Regions from separate parts of the Homo sapiens genome. Here region 2 is linked to region 1. The links are contacts of gene promoters, found by promoter capture Hi-C in blood cells and fetal thymus (Javierre and others, 2016). All regions are on one chromosome and are shown on one strand. The core of a region is centred on a gene start or on the middle of the fragment in contact, and the rest is flanking DNA. Distances in the headings are between cores, read along the strand shown. Region 1 holds the start of CSNK2A1 (casein kinase 2 alpha 1). Region 2 has its middle 37 kb from the start of SLC52A3.

The links. Contacts are between HindIII fragments. The CHiCAGO score rates a contact against its expected background, and 5 or more counts as called.
Region 2: a fragment that was not itself captured here is called in contact with the fragment with the promoter of CSNK2A1 in region 1 in 5 of 17 cell types (M2 macrophages, megakaryocytes, erythroblasts and 2 more); the score reaches 11.4 in M2 macrophages.

The regions. Positions count from the first base shown.
Region 1 is chr20:541,075-546,607 of GRCh38, forward strand. CSNK2A1 (casein kinase 2 alpha 1) reads right to left here and starts at 2,716. Exons shown (of 14, transcript NM_177559.3): 1 at 2,598-2,716. RefSeq lists enhancers at 1,036-1,729, 2,423-3,116, 2,602-2,751, 2,772-2,851, 2,962-3,011 and 1 more and a silencer at 2,222-2,281. The HindIII fragment of the contact is 12,556 bases long and covers 1,964-5,533 here.
Region 2 is chr20:729,146-734,678 of GRCh38, forward strand. No RefSeq gene overlaps it. Among named protein-coding and RNA genes, the nearest start is that of SLC52A3, 37 kb to the right of the region's middle. RefSeq lists an enhancer at 4,798-5,298. The HindIII fragment of the contact is 8,874 bases long and covers 1-5,533 here.

The DNA.
Region 1 (5,533 bases), core at 1,466-3,965:
TGATAAACTTTCCATGTGGTCCTCTCTAGCAAAGGCAAATGGAGTCCTTCTCATGCTTCAAATCTCTGATTTCCTTTTCTGCCCATTTCTCTGATCCCAGTTGGAGAAAGTTCTCTGCTTTTAAGGACTTAAGTGACTAGATTCGGCCCACCCAGAAAATCCAGGATAATTTTTCTATTTTAAGATTCTTAACCTTAATTACACCTGCCAAGTTCCTTTTGCCATGTAACACAGGATAGCTACAGATTCTGGGGATCAAGGTATGGCACCTTGGGAAGAGGGAGATGTAATTCTGCCTACTACAAATCCAAGTCCTATGGAAGGGTTTAAACTCACTTCCTAAAGAAAATCATCCCTTTCTTTAACAGAGTGTGAAGTAAAGATGTATATATTTTACTTATGTGAAGTAAAGTATATATACATACATACATATGTCTTTACTTATGTGACACAAAGATGTATGTTCAGAGATAGAGACAATAGTAAAAACAAGGACTCACTCTGGATGAGTGAGTAGGAAAAGGACGCGCAGTATGGAAAAGGAGTTGCCACCTGTTTCATCCTCAAATTGCAAGGCACTTCACCCATAACTACTTAGAAACTAACCCATGCTCCTCCTTAAATGTGTATTTCTCTTCTCTGTATTCCACAAAGGAGTACATAACTAGGCTTTTTTTTATTTTTAAAGAAAAGTCACCTCACGGGGACCTAACTGTATAATCAGTTGATTAATCAATCTAAGCAAATTTCCAATCTTGCATTCTTTCTTCAAGTCATACACCCTCCCGCAATAGCAAACCAAAGCCAAGTATTTCAAAGTCACAGAAGGACAAAAACATGCCCTGCTAAGACTGCAGGTGAACTTTTGAGAATACCACGGAGGAGAACTAGTATTGGTACTGGACTTTCAGCCCCAGGTCCACCAAGCCAGTAAAGCCAAATGACTTACAACAAAACCCTACAACAACTACAAAGATACTACTCTAAAGCCCTGTCTACAGTCAAATTCTTGACTATAAATTTTACTTAGAACAGAAGAGCCCCAAATATACCAGCTAGTCCCTTTACAGTGACAGGTAAAAGCTACTTACTACACTTACTACCTGCCAGACACTGTAGTAAGCACTTGACACAAATTGTCTTATTTACTCTTCTCCGTAAACTCACAAGCTAGAAAATACCATCATCCCCCTTTTACAGACGGGAAAACTGAGGCTTAGAGAGTTTAGGTCACACAGCTAAGTAGCAATGGCCCTGATATTTGAGAACCTAGGCAGTCTGGTTTTTAACCACTGGGCCTACACTGCACTCCTCAGATGGAATGAAGTCTCCAATTCTTGGAAAAATCTTCCCTTCTTAGTTTTCTTTTTTCTTTTTGAGGCGGAGTCTCGCTCTGTCGCCCAGGCTGGAGTGCAGTGGCGGATCTCAGCTCACTGCCACCTCCGCCTCCCAGGTTCAAGCGATTCTCCTGCCTTAGCCTCCCGAGTAGCTGGGATTACAGGCGCGCGCCACCAAGCCCGGCTGATATTTGCATTTTTAGTACAGACGGGGTTTCACCGTGTTGGTCAGGCTGGTCTCGAACTCCTGACCTCGTGATCCACCCGCCTCGGCCTCCCAGAGTGCTGGGATTACAGGCGTGAGCCACACGCCCGGCCTCTCTTCTTAGTTTTCATTTCCTCTCCCCATGTCCCATTCTCGTAGAATTAAACAGCTGAAAAGTAATCAAGTCTTCCCAAATAATTTGCCACCTTCTTTTCAAAACTCTTTCCTCCACACAAAGCAATAGCCAAGATGCAACTTCTCCTGACCCTGACTCTGCTTCCCCAAAACAAACTACAGAAGCTCCACCCATCACCTGCTTAATCTAGCAATGTTCCAACACTGCAAAAAACACACAACGAAAAACAAAATTGAAAAGTCCTACTCTTTCAAAAGGTCACCAACATATGTATACCCTTAGCCAAGCTTTCTCTCCATACCTCTTTTTCTATCCAGGCTCCTAACTAGTCCTTAACTCCAACTCCAGACGTTCTGCCCCACGTCTTGGTCCCTTCCCCCTTTCGCCCCAGCAACCCCGCCTGGGGTTCTCTCCACCTCGCACCCACTCTGCAGGTGGGAAGCTCAGCCCCGCCCAGAGGGACCCTAAGAAGGCCCCTACTCCAGCTGCCCAGTTTCGCGGGAGGGTTCACTGCACACTACCCAGCAGGCACCACTCCCTCCGCACCCTCCCCCAGCACCCCCCTGCGGCCCCACCCCTCAAGTTCCCTTCCCCCTCTGACGACCCCCTCCTCCAAGTTGTCCCCTAGTCCCCACCCAGTTCAGTCCTCTCCTCTGCAATAAGCTGGACTCCGGCAGCCGGTTCCCACCCTCACATCGGCCTCTGCCCCCAAACCTCGCCCTCCGCCCTGAGGGGTGGCCCCTGGGCCTCCCCGATGGGCTGCAGGGGCCTCGCTTGGTTTATGTGTGAAGGTGGGGGCAGGGGAAGGCGACGGGCCGCTCAGGAGTCTGCTGGAAGCGTGAGGGTCGGCCGCGCTCCGCTGCCCTATCCTGGGCCCACCCCACCCGCCAACGACCTCGCCTGGCTGCTCCCTAGGTACCTGTGGTGGAAGCGGCAGCGGCGGCGGCCGCTCTCCCCTCTGCTCACACAGACAATATGGCGGCGATGGAGGAGGAGACACACGGCTCGGCCGCCAGCCGCAGGGACCAGAGCGAGGCTGCAGCCGCTGCTGCCGGAAGCGGAAACCCCCTCCTACCAGGAGGCGGGGCGAGACAGCTTCCGACTCCGCCCCCAGAGGAATCTCTCTGAATGCGGCCATGCTGGGATGTCCTATTGTAACCTTAGGGATTCAGTTCTGGCCTAGGGTGCAAAATGGAAGGAATCCCCAACGCAAAGCAGAATAAGGAGACTTGCAATAGTTAAGCGCATTTTATTTCAATAGTGTTAACAAGTGACAACAGAGAGAACACGAACCTCCCATTAGGTGAACAGTTGGTTTGACCCAAGTTAAGATGGCGGTACCCAGGTTTCCCACACTTCACCCAGCTGGCCCCCCTTTCTTGAAAAGAACCATGCGCGACCTGCAGAGCTGTAGAGCCAAGCATTCTGGGAGCTGAAGTCTCTTTTGCTCTGACCCCTCGTTTTAAATTAGGGTTTCAGCAACACTTTCTATTCAAACTTGGAGTTCGGAAGAAGTGAATGAAAGTTGGACCCTAGGAAGGGCATGGCGCAGGAGTCTGAGAAGTGAGGATACTAGCTCTCAAGAGACCAAGGCCCAATTCCTTCCTCCTACAGGAGTCCTGCCAAGAGCTGTGCGTCCAAAATACAGTGTTTTTTTTTCCTTCTATCTGCCTCCCACCCCTGCTCTCCTTGCCCGAGCTACCTCCCCAAAACAGCCACAAAGCACTTTCTACCATGCAGAGCTCATCATGGTCTCCCTATGGTCAAAAATCTCCCATGGACCTCTTTATGCACCAAAGATAGCCCAAACTCTTCACTTGACATTCAGAGTCCTCCATAATTTGGCCAAACCCTCCTTTCCAGCCTCCTATTCTGCCACTCTCTTCTCAAATTCCGGAAGATTCCACCCACAAGACTGCAAACAATTCCTGGAACTTAGCTGTGTTGCCTCCCTCCCTTTACACTGGCAGTTACTTCTCTTACTGTCACCTCATGGACTGGATAATTTCTGTATGCCGATTGAACTAATTCAGGGATCCTTTCCTCTAGGGGTCTCCTCTCTGTTTAACTCCCTCCAACCCAGACACTATCAGTCAGTAACCTGAGGACCTCAGTCTGTCTCCTCCATCAGACTGGGAGCCCCCAGTGGACAGGGCTCCATCTGATGATCAACCTCTCCTTTGCAGGCCCTGATAAAAGCTGAAGCGTCTAAGAGTTGCTGAAAGGAGTTCAAGTATTAGTCTCACCTCTGGTGGGACAGAGGTGTGAGCACTGGAACGAGGGTGAGGAGGCCAGGTTCTTTCAGTACCAACCATTATCCCTAACTGTCTCAGAATAGCTGGTTGTCTCAGGAATGGGCCTCTCCACCCTCCACAGCCCTGCCTTCACAGTTTGTCAGCTGACTAGCACCTCTGCTCCCAAAGAGGCACCTCTTCCCCATGTGGGGTTAGGGCTGGTGGTGGCTGCAGACTTATAGTGATGGCCTCAGGGAGGTGGCTGTGGCCTTCTCTGGACCTCATCTGCTAGACAGCTTGTGACATCTGATCCCAATTGCCTGGGAACCCACAACAGTTTTTCTCTCAGTGTCCTGTAACTGGGCCTCAATTTCCCCACTTGTGGACTGAGGAGGTTATACAAGATAATCCCAAAGTTTCTGGGAAGCCATCTTCCAGGAAATGATACCCTTCTACCTACCTCTCGAACGTATCTTTTTGGCTCTTGTGGCTTTGTTTTTCCCAACTGTATTCACATTTGTTTAACTCACAACAATTCATCATTTGCTATGAGCCAGACACTGTGCTAGGTACTGGGGATGTGTTATGAGGAAGACATACACCAGTTGCTCACTGGTGGAGCTTACCTTCTAAAGTGAGAAGCAAGTAATGCACAGGTAAACAAATGCATAAACAAAGTAATTTCAGGTAGCAATAAGTGCTACGAAAGGAAAAGATAAGTAGCTGTGAAGTATAGAGCTTTAGCTTGAGTGGTTCAGAAGGTCCCTTTGAGAAGGAAACAGTAAGTGCAAACGTCCCAAGGCAGGAAAGAGCATCACAAGTTTGAAGAAGGAGGCCATGGTGGCTGAAGCACTGCAAATAAAGGGAAGAAGAGGAAGAAATATGGTGGGAGAGGTGGGCAGGGCATTCAGGTCATGATAAGGAAGCTGGGTTTTCATCTGAGTGTAGTGAGGATATTTCCCATTGCTTAGCCTTCATGCCTTTCCAATCTCAGCCTCTCTCACAGCATTAGTTCTTCATTCTTCTTCCTAGTTCTGGCCTCTATCCATGACTTCATTCAGAGGGCTCACCTGGGCACACATATACAACCCTCATACTCATGCAGGACATAATTGAAACCCAACTCCTGCCGTCTACTACGCCAGCCTCATGTAGGTCTCCGGTCTCAAGAGGCTTCCCATCCCAAGTGTTCACCTAGTTGTAGACTTAACATTTATCCTTAACTCTTACTGTCTCTGATCCCCCACATCACACCTCTCAGGCTAGTCTTTCTGCAAACAACAGCAGCAGAAGCAAGAGTTAAGATGTTGAGAGTACTTGCACTGTGCCACACACTGAATGTTCATCATCTCACTTAATCCTCATGTCAACCTGATGAGGTAGAAACCAAAAGTATCTCACCGTACAGATGAGGAGACTCAGGTTCACAGAGATCACAGGCCATGCCCAAGGTCACATGCCGGAGATGGAGCTTGCATTTCAACCTGGGCCATTAGAGTGACTCTCTCTCTCTCTCTCTCTTTTGAGACAGGATCTTGCTCTGTTGTCCAGGCTGGAGTGCAGTGGCATGATCACAGCTCATTATAACCTTGAACTCCTGTGCTTAAGCGATCCTCCCACC
Region 2 (5,533 bases), core at 780-3,279, 190 kb after region 1:
TCCAGTTTATCCTTCTCCCCTTTAGATTTGGAGAGGATTTGGCTGCCCTCACCCTTGTAAGGGTTTAGGCATCATTCGCCCTTGACTCCTGTCCAGTTGTCTCACTGGTCTCCCTGTATCCCTTATTTTGCCCTTCAATCTGCCTGCACCCATCCTCCAAAATGACCTTTTTAAAAGCAAAGCTCGGTGGCACTACTTTTCAAAATCACAAATGCACAGGATCTGTAACCTGCTGGTTGCACATGACAGAAACCGCATAATAATCATGGGTTAGGCCGGGTGTGGTGGCTCAAGCCTGTAATCCCAGCACTTTGGGAGCCTGAGGCAAGCGGATCACTTGAGATCAGGAGTTCGAGACCAGGCTGGCCAATATGGTGAAACCCTGTCTCTACTAAAATACAAAACTTTGCTGGGCGTGGTGGTGTACACCAGCTACTCAGGAGGCTGAAGCACGAGGAGAATCGCTTGAACCCAGGAGGCAGAGGCTGCAGCGGGCTGAGATCACACCACTGCACTCCAGCCTAGGTGACAGAGCGAGGCTCCTTCTAAAAAAAAAAAGAAAATAAAAAAAAAGTCCTGGTGTTAGAGGCATTTTTCTTTTCCTCCTCCTCCTCCTCCTGCTCCTCCTCCTCCTCCTCTTCTTCTTCTTCTTTTCTGAGACAGAGTCTCCCTTTGTCACCCAGGCTGGAGTGCAATGGTGTGATCTTGGCTCACTGCAACCTCCACCTCTTGGGTTCAAGCGATTCTTCTGCCTCAGCCTCCAGCTAATTTTTGTATTTTTAGTAGACATGGGGTTTCACCATGTTAGCCAGGCTGGTCTTGAACTCCTGACCTCAGGTGATCCACCCGCCTTGGCCTCCCAAAGTGCTAGGATTACAGGTGTGAGCCACCACACTCAGCCAATAGAGGCATTTTTCTGTCATGTAAATAAAGTCTAAAGCAGGCAGTCTAAAACTGGCATGGTGCTCTACGGTTCAGGAACCTAAACTCCTTTTGTCTTATTATGCTACCCCCTCAGTACATGGTTTCCACTTCATGGCCCAACATGGCTGCTCAAACAGCAGCCCTCACATCTGCATCCCCAGATGGAGAGTCTTTTTTTTTTTTTGAGATGGAGTCTCCCTCTGTCACCCAGCCTGGAGTGCAGTGGCCTGATCTTCGCTCACTGGAATCTCTGCCTCCCAGGTTCAAGTGATTCCCCTGCTCAGCCTCCTGAGTAGCTGGGACCACAGGCACGTGCCACCACACCTGGCTAATTTTTTGTATTTTTAGTAGAGATGGGGTTTCACTGTGTTAGCCAGGATGGTCTCGATCTCCTGACCTTGTGATCCACCCACCTCGGCCTCCCAAAGTGCTGGGGTTACAGGTGTGAGCCACCGCGCCCAGCCCCCAGATGGAGAGTCTTTTAGTCATTAGAAAGGAGAAAGGAGCCAAGGAGGGAGGGAGGTTCCCTTAAAGACTCTTTCGGAAGTCACATACAATCTTCTTGTTGATGTTCCATTGGCTAAACTTGATCACATCACTACACTAAGCTACAAAGGAGGCTGAGAAATATGATCTGTGTTCTAGGCACCATGTGTCCAGATGAAAATTGAGGCTCTTATTTCAAAGAAAAAGTTCAGTCCATGGCCAGGCGTGGTGGCTCATACCTGTAATCCCAGCACTTTGGGAGGCCGAGGCTAGTGGATCACCTGAGGTCAGGAGTTCGAGACCAGCCTGGGTAACATGGAAAAACCCCGTCTCTACTAAAAATACAAAAATTAGCCGGGTGTGGTGGCATGTGCCTGTAGTCCCAGCTGCTCAGGAGGCTGAGGCAGGAAAATTGCTTGAATTTGGGAGGCACAGGTTGCAGTGAGCTGAGATCACGCCACTGCACTCCAGCCTGGGTGACAGAGCAGAACTCTGTCTCAAAAAAAAAAGTATCAGAAAAAGCGCAGTCTGGATATTGGGAAATGACCATCAGTCTATGCATGCTCAGGAGTTCCATGTCTAGCAGTGTGTCCTATAGGTTTGCTTAACCCATGTGACATTTGACACGTTTACAAGGTTATTCACTGCAGCATTGTGACAGCAAAAGACTGGAAACAACCTAAGTGTCCTGTAATAGGGGACTGGTTAAACAAATTATGGGACATTTATACAATGGAGAATGATGGCCACAAACACACATGAGGAAACTCTCAATGCAGTGATATGAAATGGTATTTAAGATGTTTCACTTTGGAAAACAGTTTGGCAGTTTCTTATAGAGTTAAACATACATCTCTCCTATGACCCAGCAAGTTCACCTCTAGGTTTTTGCTCAAAATAAAAATATATATGTATATATAGCTCCACAAGGACTTCTATGCAAATGTTCAACAGAGTTTAACATGTGATAGACAACAATTGGAAGTGACCCAAGATCGAACAGCCAATGAATGGATAAACTGGTGAGTCAAATATTACACTGGAGTTTAAATGAGTGATCCAATGTCTGCAACCACATGGATGAATCTCAAAACATGCTGAATGAAAACAAGCTGGATACAAAAAATAGCATGTTGTAATGATGCCGTTTATATGAAATTCTAGAAGAGGCAAAACAGACCAATCTATGATGACAGAAAGCAGAGCAGTGGCTGCCTCTGGGGTGGAGGGATGGACTGGGAAGGAGCATAAAAGAATTTCTTGGGATGCTGGAAATGTTCTGTATCATGATTGGGGTGTTGATTACACAGGTGCATTTCACTGCATGTAAATTATACCTTGATATTTTTAAAAAGCAGGGTGCAGAACAATGTTTAAATTATGGAATCCGGTATGTTTAAAAAGCAAGGAAATTTGCTTGTATCTGCATTGACTGTCTAGAAGAGACTTGTAATAGTGATTGTCGGTGGGAGAGGAACTGGGTAGCTGGGGGCTGGGGAAAAGGGACACTTTGGGCCATACCCTGTTATACCTGTTGAATCTTAAACCAGTTGAATGTACTACCTAATTAAAAACTAAAACTGAAAAGATCAGTTAGATGCACACGTGACATCACCACATTCATGTTTTAAATCTCCTAATGGCTCTTCCCGGCAATCTGGACGAAGTTCAGACTCTGAGCTGTCCTGGCCTTATGTGGCCCCACTCAGGCAGCATCCTCTCCAACCACTTTTCTGTTCCCTGCAGAGACAGCTCAGTGCCTGGCTCCCTCTGGTTGGCCTAAGTGCATATGTGCCATTCCCTGAGTGCTCAGCTCCTCGGTGAATTCTCCCCAGCCCCCTGCCTGAGTTGGTCCCTCGGGTCTCACTGGACCTGCTGCACTTTGCCTTCCCCCTTCCTCATCTATCAGATCAACACGTGTTTCCCAGAGCTCTCTGTGAGCTGGACCCCAGAGTCCTGGAGATGTGTGGGAGCCACTTTTATGGGGGAACCTGCTTCCTTGTTTCTGCTTCAGACAGCAGGCTTCTCCTGCCCTGAGACTCCCAGCAGCGTCTCCTCTTCCCAGGCCCAGATCTGGCCTGGGGTAGAAACTTTGATAAAATGTGCTGTCTTTAAGTTAAATATGGCTCCATAAAGAATGCATTCCATGACAAGAACCAACAGAGCCCTGGTTTCTTAGAAGATACAGAGAAAACACACTGTTGTGGGAGAATTGTGTCTGCCAAAAAGATACATCCCAGCTCTAACCCTGGGACCTGTGATTGTGACCTTATTTGGAAACAGGGTTTAGGCAGATGTAGTCAGGTCAGGGTGAGGTAATACTGGATTAGAGTGGGCTACTCCAATGACTGGTGCCCTTAAAGAGGGAAACAGACAGAGGAGAACACCACGTGACCACAGAGGCGAAGATGGGAGTGATGCATCCACAAGCCAAAGAAGGCCAAGGAGGCTTGCAGTCATAAAAGCTGGGGAGAAGCGAGGAAGTGTCCTCCCTTAGGGCTTTCAGAGAGAGCATGGCCTTGCCAGCACCTTGATTTCAGACTTTTAGCCTCCAGCACTGTGAGAATACATTTCAGTTGTCTTAACCTACCTGGTTTGTGGTTATTTGTTCTTTTTTTAAATTTTTTATTTATTTATTTATTTTTGAGACAGAGTCTCACTCTGTCACCCAGGCTGGAGTGCAATGGTGTGATCTTGGCTCAGTGTGACTTCCACCTTCTGAGTTCAAGTGATTCTCCTGCCTCAGGCTCTGGAGTAGCTGGGATTACAGGCACCTGCCACCACACCTGGCTAATTTTTGTATTTTCAATAGAGACGTGGTTCCACTGGGTTGGCCAGGCTGGTTTTGAACTCCTGGTCTCAACTGATCCGCCTGTCTTGGCCTCCCAAAGTGCTGAGATCACAGGCATGAGCTACCGCACCTGGCCTGTGGTTGTTAACTGTAGTCCCAGGAAATGAATACACACACAAAACCAGTTAATACCTAAGACAATTCCAGCTAGTGGCAAGTGCTTTGGAAAAACAAAACAAAACAAAACAAAACAAAACAGGTGAGAAGGGCGTGGGATAGAGAGGGACTGGGAACGGTGCCACATTAGCCAGGGTGGTCAGGGAAGCCCTCTTGGAGGAGGAGGCATTTCAGTGGAGAGGAGAAGCCCAGCATGTGAGGACCAGGCAGAGGTGCTGGTGAGGGGGCACTTGGTGGGCGTGAAAGCTACTGGATGCAGCTCTGACGATGGAGGATACCTGACTGGGATTTTGGAGGAAGTCTCCAGGAATGAACCGGGAAGGGGCTATCCTCTCTTTGCCTCTGCAGGTCTCAGAACCTGCTGCATGGCTGCTGCAGGCTGTCCCTCGGCCTAGGCCGGCTGGCAGCCGATGAAGGAGGCCAGCCTCGCAGCTGACATGCTGCTCTCTAATTGTGATTAACTACCAAGTCCTCTCCTGCTCCGGCCTGAGGCCGCTGGTGTGACAGCTGCAGAGTGAATCAATGAGGCCAGGAAGGGGTTAATGGGCAGCCCCTCCATCTGAGCCCTTCAGACAATAAGGGGAGGTGGGGAGGCCTCTGGTGGGGGTGTGTGGCATCAGCTGGGGTGAGTGAATGGAGGGGACAGAGGCCTTGTCCCTGGGGACAGGGTGTGAGTGCTCTGTGGGGAGAGGGGTCAGACCCCCCTCCCATTATTTTCATCCACCTCCATCGTCCTCTCCCCTCCCCCACCCAGCCAGAGCATCCCAGACAACTGCCCTCTTGGCTCCAAAGTGTGCAGCATCTTCAGCCTTACGGAATTCTGAAGCAGAAATTCTAAAAGCCAAAGAACTGCAGAATCGTGACATGTCACCGCTGTGGGAGAGTCCGTCTAGTCCTGTCATTCTGAAACTTTCTTTTGCAGTGGAACCCACAACTCCCACCCCAGCTCATTTCCCCCCAAAATAATAGTGCATTGATAACATTGAGAACAGACCCTGGTACCAGCCGGCCTCATTCATCCTTCATTCAGCCCCGGTTCTACCACGTACAACTAGGGTAACTTGGGGGTATAATGCATAGTTTATAGGTGTGTGTGTGTGTGTGTGTGTGTGTGTCTTCCCTAGAGACAGAGTCTTGCTATATTGCCCAGGCTGG